Linked DNA regions of Homo sapiens: regions 1 and 2 are each linked to region 3. The links are contacts of gene promoters, found by promoter capture Hi-C in human tissues and cell types (Jung and others, 2019). All regions are on one chromosome and are shown on one strand. Each heading gives the region's core, a stretch centred on a gene start or on the middle of the fragment in contact. The rest is flanking DNA. Distances are from core to core; before and after follow the strand shown. Region 1 overlaps MED23 (mediator complex subunit 23). Region 2 overlaps MED23 (mediator complex subunit 23). Region 3 holds the start of ARG1 (arginase 1).

What was found. The method cuts DNA at HindIII sites, captures the fragments that hold promoters and counts their contacts. A contact is called where the count stands out against the background at its distance.
Region 1: a fragment that was not itself captured here is called in contact with the fragment with the promoter of ARG1 in region 3 in 1 of the 25 tissues and cell types used here (hippocampus).
Region 2: a fragment that was not itself captured here is called in contact with the fragment with the promoter of ARG1 in region 3 in 4 of the 25 tissues and cell types used here (H1 embryonic stem cells, dorsolateral prefrontal cortex, hippocampus and 1 more).

Annotation. Positions count from the first base shown.
Region 1 is chr6:131,603,646-131,608,049 of GRCh38, forward strand. MED23 (mediator complex subunit 23) reads right to left here. Exons shown (of 29, transcript NM_004830.4): 12 at 4,283-4,404; 13 at 2,834-2,979; 14 at 1,595-1,840; 15 at 533-675. Among named protein-coding and RNA genes, the nearest start is that of MED23, 22 kb to the right of the region's middle. The HindIII fragment of the contact is 4,751 bases long and covers 780-4,404 here.
Region 2 is chr6:131,621,415-131,625,945 of GRCh38, forward strand. MED23 (mediator complex subunit 23) reads right to left here. Exons shown (of 29, transcript NM_004830.4): 4 at 3,451-3,575; 5 at 1,937-2,048; 6 at 467-565. Among named protein-coding and RNA genes, the nearest start is that of MED23, 4.6 kb to the right of the region's middle. The HindIII fragment of the contact is 5,524 bases long and covers 1-4,531 here.
Region 3 is chr6:131,571,284-131,576,121 of GRCh38, forward strand. ARG1 (arginase 1) reads left to right here and starts at 1,943. Exons shown (of 8, transcript NM_000045.4): 1 at 1,943-2,056. The coding sequence starts at 2,000. It also overlaps a transcript of MED23 not described here. RefSeq lists an enhancer at 1,409-1,910. The HindIII fragment of the contact is 11,485 bases long and covers 1-4,838 here.

The sequences.
Region 1 (4,404 bases), core at 1,905-4,404, 34 kb after region 3:
ATTGTGGTTAAAATTAAGACTATGCTGTATTCGTGAAAAGCTGGAATTACCATGAATCAGAAAAACACTTCTATATCAGAAAGTATCTATTATTTTAGAACTATATAATAAATGAGACATTATAATGTATCTTCTGCAAGGTAGGAAAATTCCTTCTTTATTTCCAGTCAGACTTCGTATGCACTGGAGGACAGCATTGCTGCCTCAGGCAGAATCCATTTGCATGAGGACAGGGACCAGGTCTATCCTGCTCACTGCATCCCAGGCACCTAGCACATTAACCTTTTCTTACCACTTTACTTAAAAATGCAACAAACCCCCCAACCCTCACACTTCCTATTCCTTTTTGCTTTATTTTTCTCTATAACATGTATCATCTGACATATTGTATATTTCATTTATTTAATGTCCTCCTCCATAAGCTCCATCATGGTGGTGACTTGTTCTCTGCTGTGTCCCCAGGACCTAGAAAAGTAACTTTAGAGTTAATGAATGGGTTAATAGTTATAAACACCAGAAAGTCCTGTCTTACTGATAAATCCTTTGATGCCCAAAGACTCTATTTCCATATAGACCAATAAACGACTGTAAGTTTCCACTAGGGCTGGAGCCAAGGCCACACTGGACTTTGCATGAGCAAGTTTTATCACCCTGGTTGCAATGCTGTGAATAAGGCTGAGGAGAAAAAAAGGGAAGAAAATAAAAATCCATATTTTTGACATAAACATAGGGGCTACTCTACTTAGAAGTAACTTAGTATAAATCTGAACTTAAATGATTCAAATGAAGTTGATTCATTTAATGTGTTTAAGCTGTGCAGGACACTTGGTAAGGATGCACTGCACAATCTGAGACTCATTCCGTTTCTGTGGCGCTTTCAATATGCATACGGATCCCCCTGCTCATGGAAAAACAAACTTTGGATTCAACTCATAAGAGCATGCTTGAGGGATTTTGGTCACTCAAATGATGCATCAAAATACATTTGGGAAATTAAATAACTTTTGTCACAGATTTACTTTAATAAATCACTGCTAAGACCCAAATGTTACGTTCTAATGGGGCTTTGCTCAAATCTGTTATATATGCAAGTGAAGCACATGTGTAATTCTATCACAATGGTTACCATTTGAAAAAGAGCATAGCTCTACCAGGACTGATGCTCCACTTGGAGGCCCACAGACAAATTCTCTTTGGCCTATACAGTGGTTGTTTCAAATTTGAGCCAATACTTAAAAGCTGAAAGACTACTAATAAAAAATCTGGATTTCTAGCCCTTTCCAAAAATGTTGGAAGCTCTAGCTACACTAGTCCTCATTCTTAACTATCTATAAAAAATGAAAAAAAATGTGCAAAAAATTTTTATAATGCTTATCTCTCATGTAGAGATTACAACAATTACTTTCTTTGGGTTTGTTTATCCTAGAATTCCTATAATAAAAAATATTTACTTTTGTAATAAAATAAAGCTAACTTTTTTTTCTCAAATGTACCTGACTATGAAATAATACGCACATAAAATCATGAAATAAAGGTTTATACTATACTCGTATCAATTCCCTGACATGGAACCAAATTAATAAAAAGAACATACCTCATTTTGGCATGAACTGTCAGTGAATCCAGGAGGTTCATAGGTAAGGGGGTAATAGATCCTGAAGCCATACAGTTTGTTCCAGGGAGAGGTATCCTCATAATTCCATTTCCATAAATAGTTTCTACCAGAGCTCCCATGGGTAATGTAAAACATTCTGAATTTGTAGAGTATGCATTACACAATAGAGCAATCTTATAGTCATTCATCTGTAAACTTTTATTTCTTAGACTCTGCTGCAGGAACCTAAATATTCACGTTCCATTAAAAAGAAAAAATGAAAATAACTTCCATAATGTTAATTTGTATTTTTTTAAAAGTTCAATTTTATGCAATTATTTATTAATGCTATCTTTGTTCCTATAGGTATTATAGTTTCTGTGTGAAATGTACAGTGGGAATACACATAGAAGTTTGAGTAGCATTTCAGAAGAAAAATAATTTTAAATAAACAATTAATGGGTACTGTTAAGTATGCACTACATATATGACCACCATATTAGGCTAAGTTTCAGAGAATGAAGAAATAACTCACAAGTCTATGAACCAGGTTTCTATTTATTATCTGTCTGTATAAACACAACAATGTCTTCATTACAGATACCACTATGAAAAGGTGGTTAAGGGCTGTCTCATAAAATGAAAACCAAATGAAGTATCAAGTCTGACAATCCTGCCATCTCCTGTGAAGAGAAGTGGCAGTCCTTCTCAGAAGTTCTAGGTGGGAAGTTAGGCTACTCCTAGCACCCTTGACTACAATACAATACTATCTAAGAATGGTATCTTCATTGAGTCATCACAACTTTGGAAGAGATATTAAGGGGCATGCCAGCCAGATCAGCTCAATCAATCCTGGCAGCCCAGAGATGAATGATATCTCAGTCAGCTTATGCTGAAGTTCCAAGCACTTGGGAAATTCTGAAACATTTTTACATTTATAAAAATTGATATGCTTTCATTATATTAATAACTTTAAAGTATAACATATACAACTGAAGATCAGCCTTAAAAATTAAAAAAAAAAATCTATACATATAAGCAAGACTAACCTTGTAGCTGTTTCCTGATATAGGTACTGGTCAGATTCTCCTGCTATGACATATACATCAAGTATTTGCCCTTACCTATAGTGGGTATGCGGAGATTTCCAAATTTCACACAAACACCGAGACCAATATTAGTCTACAATCCGCTATTAATTAAACAAGAAAATTAAGTATCAAGCAACAAATAACTTACTCATGGTGAAGTCTTAGGGAATGAGGTATTGGAATCTGTAGCTTGGAGTTGTCATTTTGAGCTTTTCTATTGAGATGAATCCAAATACAGGTCATTGCAAAGGCATGGGTTGACTGGGGTTTGTTAATATCAGGAACTGGGATATACTGAAAAATAACAATTTGAAAAATAACACAATAGAAGAAAGAGAAGAATTAAATAATTATGTGTATTTTAGTAATCAATTTCTAATATAACTCTTTTTAGCATATCATGTCTTACTTTAGCCCCGATAATTCAATAATACAAATCAGAAGGTCTAACAGCCATAAAATTTTGAAATTATTACAAGATGCTTTATTTGGTATATGTTTTTACTTGCTTTAAGTAACACATATTCACAGGTGCTTGGTCAAGCTTTTCCTACTATCGCAGAGCATTCTCAAATAAAAATAAATTTTTAATTTTTACTTTTAAAAAATTAAAACACATCATCATGAAATCTTACTAAAGTGACAAATGTAACTAAAAACAAGACTTTCTAAAAGTCTCATAATAATTTTTAAGAACAGATAAAAATCTAAGAAATACGCAACCTAAATAATTACATTTAAACATATTGACTATTAATGGGTAAAATGATATGGATGTCTGGGATTTGCTTGAAAATTGTCCAACATTAACAAAAAAAATAAGGAGGAAAGATGAAACAAGAGTATTTCTTGATGATGGGTATAACATGGTGGGGTTACAGCTAGTGCATGGTGGGGTTACAGCTAGTGCATGGTGGGGTTACAGTAACCCCATCATGTTATACCCATCATCAAGAAATACTCTTGTTTCATCTTAAAATTTTCTGGGCAGATCACCTAAGGTCAGGAGTTCAAGACCAGCCTGGCCAACACGGCGAAACCCTGTCTCTACCAAAAATACAAAAATTAGTCGGGCATGTTGGCATGTGCATGTAATCTCAGCTACTCGGGAGGCTGAGGCAGGAGAATTGCTTCAACCCAGGAGGTGGAGGTTGCAGTGAGCTGAGATCACGCCACTGCACTCCAGCCTGGGTGACAACAGTGAAACTCCTTAACAACAACAACAACAACAACAACAATTCATGATAAAGTACTTCTAGAAAATGGCAATCATCAAAATACATCACATTTTACTCAAATATCTTATATGATAAAATACCCAGGGGACATACTGAGGCTCAACTGTCAAAGAAAAAATAGCTATTAATAAAGACTGTTATCTGGCCATTCAATGATGTATATAGATTAAAACAGCTTTAGTGATTTGTAAAACTGTAGACCTACCTAGAATGTAGAGAAAGAGCTTGCTACACTTAACATTCAATTGTGATTTAGCATAAACTTTAGAAATACACAAAATCACACTAAAATCCTTAAACATAAATTAGACATAATTTACTCATCATGTTGTTATGAATAGTTACTCAGTAAAGCTTACTTCTTTTTCTGGGTATAGCAAGTCGAAGAGCTTCATCACAGGGAGAAAATCAGCTAGTGCATTTTTCTGAATACTTCCAGAAATGAATTGCAGGAGAACCCACATAAGATGATCTCTGCCTT
Region 2 (4,531 bases), core at 1,012-3,511, 50 kb after region 3:
TTATTGGGTTTCAACTGTAGCAAAGAATACATTTATATGTAAAAAATATCTAAAAATAAAGATTAATAAACAATGGAATGGATTGTTCATGGTTAGTAAATAACCTTGCACATGCTTTAAATATTGGCACACTTAAACAGGAGTGCAACAGACCAACGTAACAATTCTTGCGATACTAGTTACAAAGTACAAAGATCTTTTAAGTGGTCCATATGCTAAGGTCTTGTAATGTTTAAGCTATTTTAATTTCTATTTCATTGTTTTCATAATTTAAAACCATGAATTAAAATTTAAAATGTCCTTTTGAAATATAAGGGAACTAGCATCTTTTAAAATAGAAGTGATTTTTTTTTGGTAGAAGAAATAGAGCATCTCACAAAATACCGTAAGTATTAAAAGCACAGACCTAAACAAAGCTAGACTTTTTTGAGGTTATGATCACGAATTTCAGACATGTCTAAATTACCTCTCTTGCTGCCAGAAGCTGCTGTACAACAGCAGAGCTCACTGTATTAGGAATTGTCAAAATCTTCTCCAAAATCACTTTTAAGAGATCTCGAACACCCTGATATAAGAAAAAAGACATGGGTTAAAATTAAGTAGTGTCTACTGTGTTAGCTAAAACGTCCGAAGGTTTCAGGGTGATATATTCCTTCAAGGTCACACCTTTAAATTTTCTGAATCAGTTACAATCTAAGTCCCTAACATTAACCCAACAGAAGAGTCATGTTCCAAAACAGAGTTCTAAAGACTGTCTTAAAATACAATGAGCAAAGAAAGTCATTATACAGTTTGTCAAGCTTTTTTGGCCCTCATAACATTAGAAGGGTTTACGTTGTTACAAGGGTCAAAAACCTTAATTATACATATAGACAGAAATATATTGTAACAAGACTTCAATGCACTCTGAAAACTTGAGTAACAATATCAAACTTTTTGGTAGAGGACTGTTTCTGCTCACTCCCTTTTGTGCTGGGATTATAGGTGTAAGCCACTGTGACTGGCCTATTCTCCCTTCTCATCCATCACATACCTTAATCTCTCAAGGATATCCAAGGCTATTCTGTTAATCATTTCCACATATCCAATACCAGTTACATTATCTGATATATAAAGAAGAAATTTCATTCAACATTTATTTATTGACTATGAACTACGTAACCAAGCTTGTAAAAGACAGAACATATACCTAAAAGAACAATTATGAAGTATCATACAAATAAGAAAATTGCATAAGTCTGAGTAAAGAGAAAATAATTAGCAAAAGCTTCTTAGAGTTAACTGTGTGATAAATCATGATTTAAACTAATAATTATCTGTTAGGTCATTACCTGTTAAATCATTTCAGATTAGAGAAAATGCAGAAATAAAGCACAGGGTCAGACACTGGTAATTCCCGGGAAAAGGACAATAACAAAAGTCTCCTGAAGATGCAGAATGGCTTTTGTAGCTATGGAGTCCCTAAGCCGTTTTATGAGACAAAACTAGAAAGTGTATGTTGTTTTTGGTCAAGAGCCCAAAGTGCTGAAGATATTAATTGAGGTAAGACCCACGTTCAAGAGAAGTGAAGCCAGGTCTTGCTCCCTTCATCAGTGATGCCTACATCCCTTCTCAGTTCCACACACCCCTGCTCTGTGCTTTCATTTGAAGGGATCATAATACTTGCAGCATGAAGGAACACGGATTCTGCTTTGTGACTTCCCTGCTCTTCATAAAAATGTATCAGCTACCTGTATTTATAAGAATGTTGGGAGGGGAGTAGCGGAGCCAGGGAAACAACTGAGTAACTTTAAATCTTTTCAGGAAATATACCACAAGAAATAGACAGATTTTGTAAATGCTTCCACATCATTTCTCTCACCTGAAAATAAGACATGCACACCGAAAAATCAATCATATCTGAAAGCAATCACTTTTTATAATAAGAAAAATATACCTTGTAATCCACTCCCCCAATTATTTTCCGAACCAGTTTAAATGTTAAGGCCCAAAGCTGTGTTCTTTCCCACTCAAGAGTGTCAGAGTTTATCAGGGATTCACAAACCAGCCTATAAAAAAAGAAATAGCCATTCCAGTTACAAGACAGAATTTTCCAAGTTCTCTAATAGCCGCCAATATGGTTTGGCTGTGTACTCACACAAATCTCATCTTGAATTGTAGTTCCCATAATCCCCACGTGTCATGAGAAAAACCATTTAAATCATGAGGGACAGTTCCCCCAATACTGTTCTCATGATAGTGAGTTAGTTCTCACAAGATCTAATGGTTTTATATGGGGATTCCCCCTTCACTGGGCACTCATTCTCTCTCCCACCACCCTGTGATGAGGTGCCTTTTGCCATTATTCTAAGTTTCCTGAGGCCTCCCTAGCCATGCCAAACTGTGAGTCAATTAAACCTCTTTCCTTTATAAGTTACCCAGTCTCGGGTATATCTTTGTTAGCAGCATCAGACAGACTAATACAGCCATAGTCTGTGCACTGTATTATATTTATCCTCACAAGTGTCTTTCATAAAAGTGATTACTAAGCACACTTATAAATCTGTGTAGTATTTTACATTTTTTACTTGTATGAAAGATCAAAAACAAAGTAAGAATGAAATAATATTCATTATGTTATATTTTACTAGAAAGAAGTCTATCTAAAGCTTTCGGTTAGATGTTTACCATCTATCACCTTGTGGTACACTGGATTTTTCCAACAGGATGGCAACAAGATTTTTGATCCCACATCTTCTTCTGAAATGTGACACTGACATTTCTCCCAAGGAGAGGTAGGGGGAAAGTCTACGTTCTCACTCCTTAGATCTGGGCAGACCTAAGACTATGGCCAAAAGGATGCAGTATGACTTCCAAGAAGACAAGGTGATACAATTTCTGCCTAGCCCTCTTTTGCACACTTGCTGTTAGGCTCCACCATGAGGTGAGAAAGTCTAGGCCACAAGGTGAGGGCCTGCGGAGGTTCTGGCTAATAATCCCAGCTGAGGTTCCAGATGACAGCCAGGAATCAACCACCAGATATCTGAGTGGGGAAGCTTTTGCCATGCTCCAGCCCTAGCCACATTGATCACAATCATTATGACCTTGAGTAAAAAGTGTCTCCTAAGCCGAGTCAACCACTAAAACCATGAATAATTTTAAAACCTGAGTATTACTGTTTTAAGCCATAAGGTGTTGAGGTTGTGCAGCAAAAGTAAAGGGTTACAAACTAATTAAAGTGATTAATTTCAGCCCCTGGGCAGAAACATCTGGTTTTGAGCCCACAAGCATTACCTAATTCAAAGACTATTACTCCTAGAAACTAAAACCTGAGGTATTATATAAAGGATTACTTGATAAACCTCACCTTCTTCTTCATTCTCTTACCTTTTTACAACAACAACCTCAACCAATTTCCAATCACATATAGAAAAGAAAATTCTTCAGATTGCTCATACCCATTAAACGTACCTGGGTGGAAGGAGACCAGTCTCAACTGCCATTGCTAAGCAGTCATAAAGAAAAGAAATTCTTTTAGGACTATGCTGACCATGAATAAACTTAACAATCCACTGGATACACTGTTCATGAGACTCCTGGAAAATGAGAGAATGATTTTACTTGGGGTCTAAAGTTACATTTTTATAACCAATAGCTAATACTACAACTGGAAGTATACCAATACTATGAAAGAAATACTTCACTATGAGCATCTGTGGATGAAAATAATTTTTAAAAAAAGCAAAATTAAAAAATTCAGATTTAGTATTTGTCACATTAAGCTTAACATTTTGTAATTACATAGATAAAATGCTACCATTTTTATTACATGGGAACTTCAAAAGTAGTAATTAATTAGTTAACATATTAACGGTCAATAGAAAACTCTTAACACAGATTGTTGTAAGGCATTGTAAACAGTGCCCTTTATGGCATATATAAATATTACTGTCACTGGGGGTAAAATTCATTATGGATCAGTATGTATCAGGCTTAGGAGAATTAGGTGTGAATCCAATCCCTAAGATCCCAAACAAGAGCCCATTATGAATCCAATGACATGTCACATTTCTAGACTGGCAAAACTTTAAATACGATGTCAAAATGTTGTGCCCGTATCAAAGTTTGTCTTCTAGGATTATCTCCAAAAAGAGCCTATAATGTTCTGCTTCTCTCCACAACCACTGTTCTCATACATACTTCTATTGTGGCACATATAACAATGATTTGGAAATACCTATTTTCTTCCTGGTCTCTCCATTAGAGGGCCACATCATAATTCATAAAGTGTTTAATGAATTTTTTTTTAAATTTTGGAAAGATATTCAACATCACTGAGAGAAATGCAAAATAAAATTATACTGAGATAAAATTTCTCATGTTTTTGATTGGCAAAGATCAAAAAGCTTAACACTCTATTGTGAGGTTATAAGAAAAAGATACTCTCAGCCGGGCGCGGTGGCTCATGCCTGTAATCCCAGCACTTTGGGAGGCCGAGGTGGGCAGATCATGAGGTCGGGAGATCGAGACCAACCTGGCTAACACGATGAAA
Region 3 (4,838 bases), core at 693-3,192:
ATCAAATTTGAAAGTTAGCAAATCTCCATGGATTGATTTATAAATCTAGTAAAAATTCTAGCAAATACTTTTAAGGAATTAGGTTATTCCAACTATAGGAGAATAGAGACCCATAAAAGGTAAATCAATTTTGAAAAAGAAGAGCAAAACAGTTACTCTTGCCTAAACAATGATAAGATGTACCGCAAAACTGTATTGATAAAACCTGATGGATCTGGTGCAGCCATAGGTAAATAAGTCAATGGAACAGAAGAAAGAGTTTAGTGACAGACAGCACTCCAATCAATTGCAAAATGAATGACTATTCAATGGGTGTTGTTGAGGAAACTGATGCATGAATGATAGAGGAAAAACGAGTTGGAAAATTTACATAACATACAAAGATGGATTCAGGAACTAAGTGAGAAAGATAAGCTCTAAGGCAAATGGAAGAAAATGTAAAACTACATACCTACAATTTGATGGGGTGGCAGGAATTTAATAAGACTTCCAAAGCACAAAGCATTCGGGGGAAATTATACAAGTGTCTATTTTAAAATTGAGGATTTTGAGTGATAACATATAAAAAGTTATCAGATTTCTGACAGGTTGGGAAAAGTTATTTGCAATGTCAATGCTATAAGGTTAATATCTAGGCAATATGAGGAATACCACAAGTAAATATTTAGGATATACAAGCAAACCCACAAGAAAAAGGTAGGAAACCTATTTGGAAAACAGTCCTATCAAAATGGACCCATGAGACTTTGGTTTCCTCATTTATCCATTCAATAAATATTTATTGAGTGCCTATTATACACCAACACTCTTCTAGGCCCTGGGGATACAGCAGACAAAATTCTCTGACCTCATGGAATTTAAATTCCAAAATGTTCTTTCCCACCAATAGGAAAAAGAAATTAGTTTCTACTAAGTGAATTTTCCCTTTAAATTACAATTACATAATTTTAAAGTCGGAAGGATCTTTAAGGTGCCTTTATTTTAAATTCATACTTTTGTATGGTGACAAATGGTAGCTCAGGGGCATAGAGGTTGACACCTTCCCAGCATTTAGACTATAAGCTCGACGGTTAAGTGGATTCAGAATGGCAGAGACTAAATCCCGACTTTTCTTCTACAGCCTATGTTGGCAACGGGTCTGAGCTTCAGTTTATTCATCAGTATAATGGCACCAATGATGAGACTTCACATAAAATTGGTATAAATATAAATATGGTATTTTGAAACAGAACTGCATCGGACACATGGTAAAAACTCAATGTTAGCTATTTTTATTTCTATACTTTGATTATGATATGATTCTACAATTATTTTCCTGTACACCATACTTCAAAAATGGTAACCTCTCTGGGTTACCAATCAAGTAACTAATTTTTTAAAGTAATCATCAAAAAAGGAAGTTATATACTCTTTATTATATTATACCCTAAAAGTTTATGAAATGTGTCTCATGGATTAACCATTTACCCTCATGTGTGAAATCTCAACTCAGGATTTTAGGGCTGGAAGGGATGTGACAGACGATCTTGCCAAGCCCGGCCCTTCTTCTACAAGGACGTCTTCAGAGATCTGGAGGAGGAAAGGGCCTTGCCCTGAGTTCGCTGAGCCAGAACAATAGGACTTCTTCTGTAGTTGTGAAACTTGTCAGTTGTTGAAGTCAGGTTAATGTCATCTGGCTGGCTTTTTAAAAGGGTGTGAAGTGAGAACATGAATAATTGTCACTTGATTAGAGACCTAGACTCAGAGTTAGGTTACTCCATGTATGAAGTAACCCCATATAGTTACTTCATACATGGAGTAACCATATAGTTACTCCATGTATGAAAAATTGCAAGACTGTTGACTGTCATTCTTTGGTTTAGTGGGTGGAGCCAGCTGTCCTCATTAGATAAAGGTTGTTTATTCAACCCAAGTATAAATGGAAAAAAAAGATGCGCCCTCTGTCACTGAGGGTTGACTGACTGGAGAGCTCAAGTGCAGCAAAGAGAAGTGTCAGAGCATGAGCGCCAAGTCCAGAACCATAGGGATTATTGGAGCTCCTTTCTCAAAGGGACAGGTAAGGAAAAAAGTCTTTCTTTGAATTCCTGGAATTTAGTTGAAAATTTTGGACTTCAAAATTTGTAAGGTGTTATTGTCTAGTTAGTTCAGTTTTCTGATACAATCTGGCCAGGAAATGCATATTTTAAAGTCCTCTCACCATTTTCCAACATTGTATAATTATAGTCACATATCCACTTACTTTTGTGGCTCGTGATCTCAGCCAAGGCTAAATTCATTTGAACCTACAGAATGTTTTCTCATATTTTTTAGGAGAAAATATTTTTCTTTGAATTGAAATGGACTCTTTCTGCATTGTAGCTACTCATTGAGGTTTAGTTGCTCTTGTTGTTTTTGATGTTACTGTGTGTATGTAGAGGAAGAGAGAATTTTAAGAAATACATTTGTTTAGTTATGTAATTAATGCCTAGAAAAATTTAATAGTTTGGTGGTAACCTTCAGGCTTCTTATAATTTGGATAACCTAAATATTATTGTTTCATGCAACTTTGTGAATAATTCATGTTATGTTAGGGTTTTAATGTTTCTATGAAACTGTTCATTCATGGACTAGGTAGAATCCTTTATGTGCCTCACTTGGAAGGGGAAAAAAAGAACAAAAAAAGAAAGAAAATCCTACTGCGGGTTGGCAACTCTAAAAGGATTTTAATGGATTTATGAAACCCCCAGATTTCCTTACAGCCACGAGCTGTGAATCCACACATGCCAGCAACATTGAATACACTTTTTTTTCTGCCTGGGCACACTTATTCTAGTAAAGAGAGTGTGATGACAGAACACCTTAGACTTCAACACGCATCTGTGCTTAAAGAGGATAAAAAACAAAGAACAAAATCAAACAAGACAATGTATGAGTTGAAACTACTAAGGTTGATTTTCTCCAGGTTTCTCAGGATCTGGGCAGCGTTTTGCTTCCTCTTAATTTGGAACCCTTGCTGTGTACTCTGACTTTTTACTGCAAAACAAATTGAGAGAGGCCAGAGGTTAGAGGCCCAAACTGCATTTGGACTGTCAGTAAATACTACTTTGCTTCCCCTGGAAATCCTCCAAAAGTCTCTCCCAAACACAGGGACATTTTGCTGACACAGAAATGTTCCTTTTAAAATCCACACTGTTCTCACCCACTCTTGAACAGGTTATAATAAATATATAATTTAAAAACCTCACAAAAGGGAAGCAAGTGTCCTCCTTCTACCACCCTCCTCCCATTAAAACATGGTCATGAGAATGGAGTTCATTGTCTCATGATTGTAAGGACTAAGAGAGAGAGATTTTTTACACTAAGTCATAGAGTAGAGAGGATAAAATGGCCAACATATAAGTATTTGTCCTCACCTAAAGGAGGTACAAGTTTGACAAATAAGCAAAAGGAAAGGATTAGAGGGCAGATGACTAAAATGTTGAGTCTGAGAAAGGGCTTCATCCCTGTCTCACCTCCTTGAAAGGCTTGCAAGGCAGCGAACAAACAATAAGGTAGGTATTATTTTTACCTTACAGTTGGGTTAAAAAAAAGCCCAGAGAGGTTTGGTAATGTGCTCAACGTCACACAGCCTTGACTGCATAATTCCAGACAAGATAATCTGATTCCAATGCCTATGCCCTTGATTTGCACTGATGTCTCTTCAGACTATTCAACTCCAAAGGCGACCTTATACTTGTGGCCATTTAGGGATTGGGCCCAGCTTAGAAAGTCGGTGGAGCTGACAAAGCAATTTCCAAAGTGGGCAGATAGAGCAAGCAAGAGGAAAGCCCAATCATGAGAAGCCATTTGAATAAAACAAATAAAAAAGAATTCTAGAAAATTTAATGGCTGTGTTATAGCAAATATAGTGTCAACTAAGGGGTCTATGAGCTTTGTTCTAAAATATGAAAGGGAGAAGGGTAAAAAAGCCAAGGAGTTTTATCAAACTGAGTATTGAGTATCTACTATATGTCAGCTCTACACTACAAAATATAGTGCCCCACATGTAAAGCAAGCTGGACTGAAATCTAACAATGAGGAAAAGACAAAAACAGACACAAAACTAAAGGCAAAACATGAACCAAGCAGCACCCTATTGGGGTTGAAAGAAGGAGAAATCATGTTTACTTGATTGGGGAGAGGCAGGTGTGTCAAGCAAAAAGGGAGTAAAGAAGCAAAATGTGTCAGGCAGAGGATAGGGCGGGTCCCTTGCTGCCAGGGACAGGAATTTAACATCAAGGATTTGCCTGGCACCCAGGGCAAGTCTTCTGTTCCTTTGAATGGGGAAAAAATACTTGCTTACTTTGATGCCACAGCCCCAATCCTAAAGATAGACACACGTGTCTTTTAACACATTGTCTCATCTGACAACATGTAATAATCTTCTGCATCTAAAAGCTCTGTTGGAAATTAAAATCAGAAAGATACAGAAAGGAACTGTGCCTTTAGACCTCTAATTGTTCAGGGGACTGAGGAAGACTTGCCCCTTGGAGGAAGAGTGTTAGTTTCCCTAATGTCAAAACGGCAAGGGTAGAACTTCCCATCATACTGTTAAGCAGGCCAAAACTTGAAATTACTGGGTTGGTCTTTGTTTGTAGTTTTCAGCTCCCAGATGATGACTTTTTCTGTTGCCTGCTTTCTCCCCAAGAGCTCTAGCTTACTTATGTGAGTACATGCACGTAGGTCTCTTTCATGTCACACTCTTTCGATGCTTTTGCCCAATCGTTCCCTTGGTTTGCAGAGTTTCTCCATCACTCTGTCTTGTTTTCCTAACTACCTACTCATGTCGCAAGACTCAGCTTAAACAGCATTTATTTCTT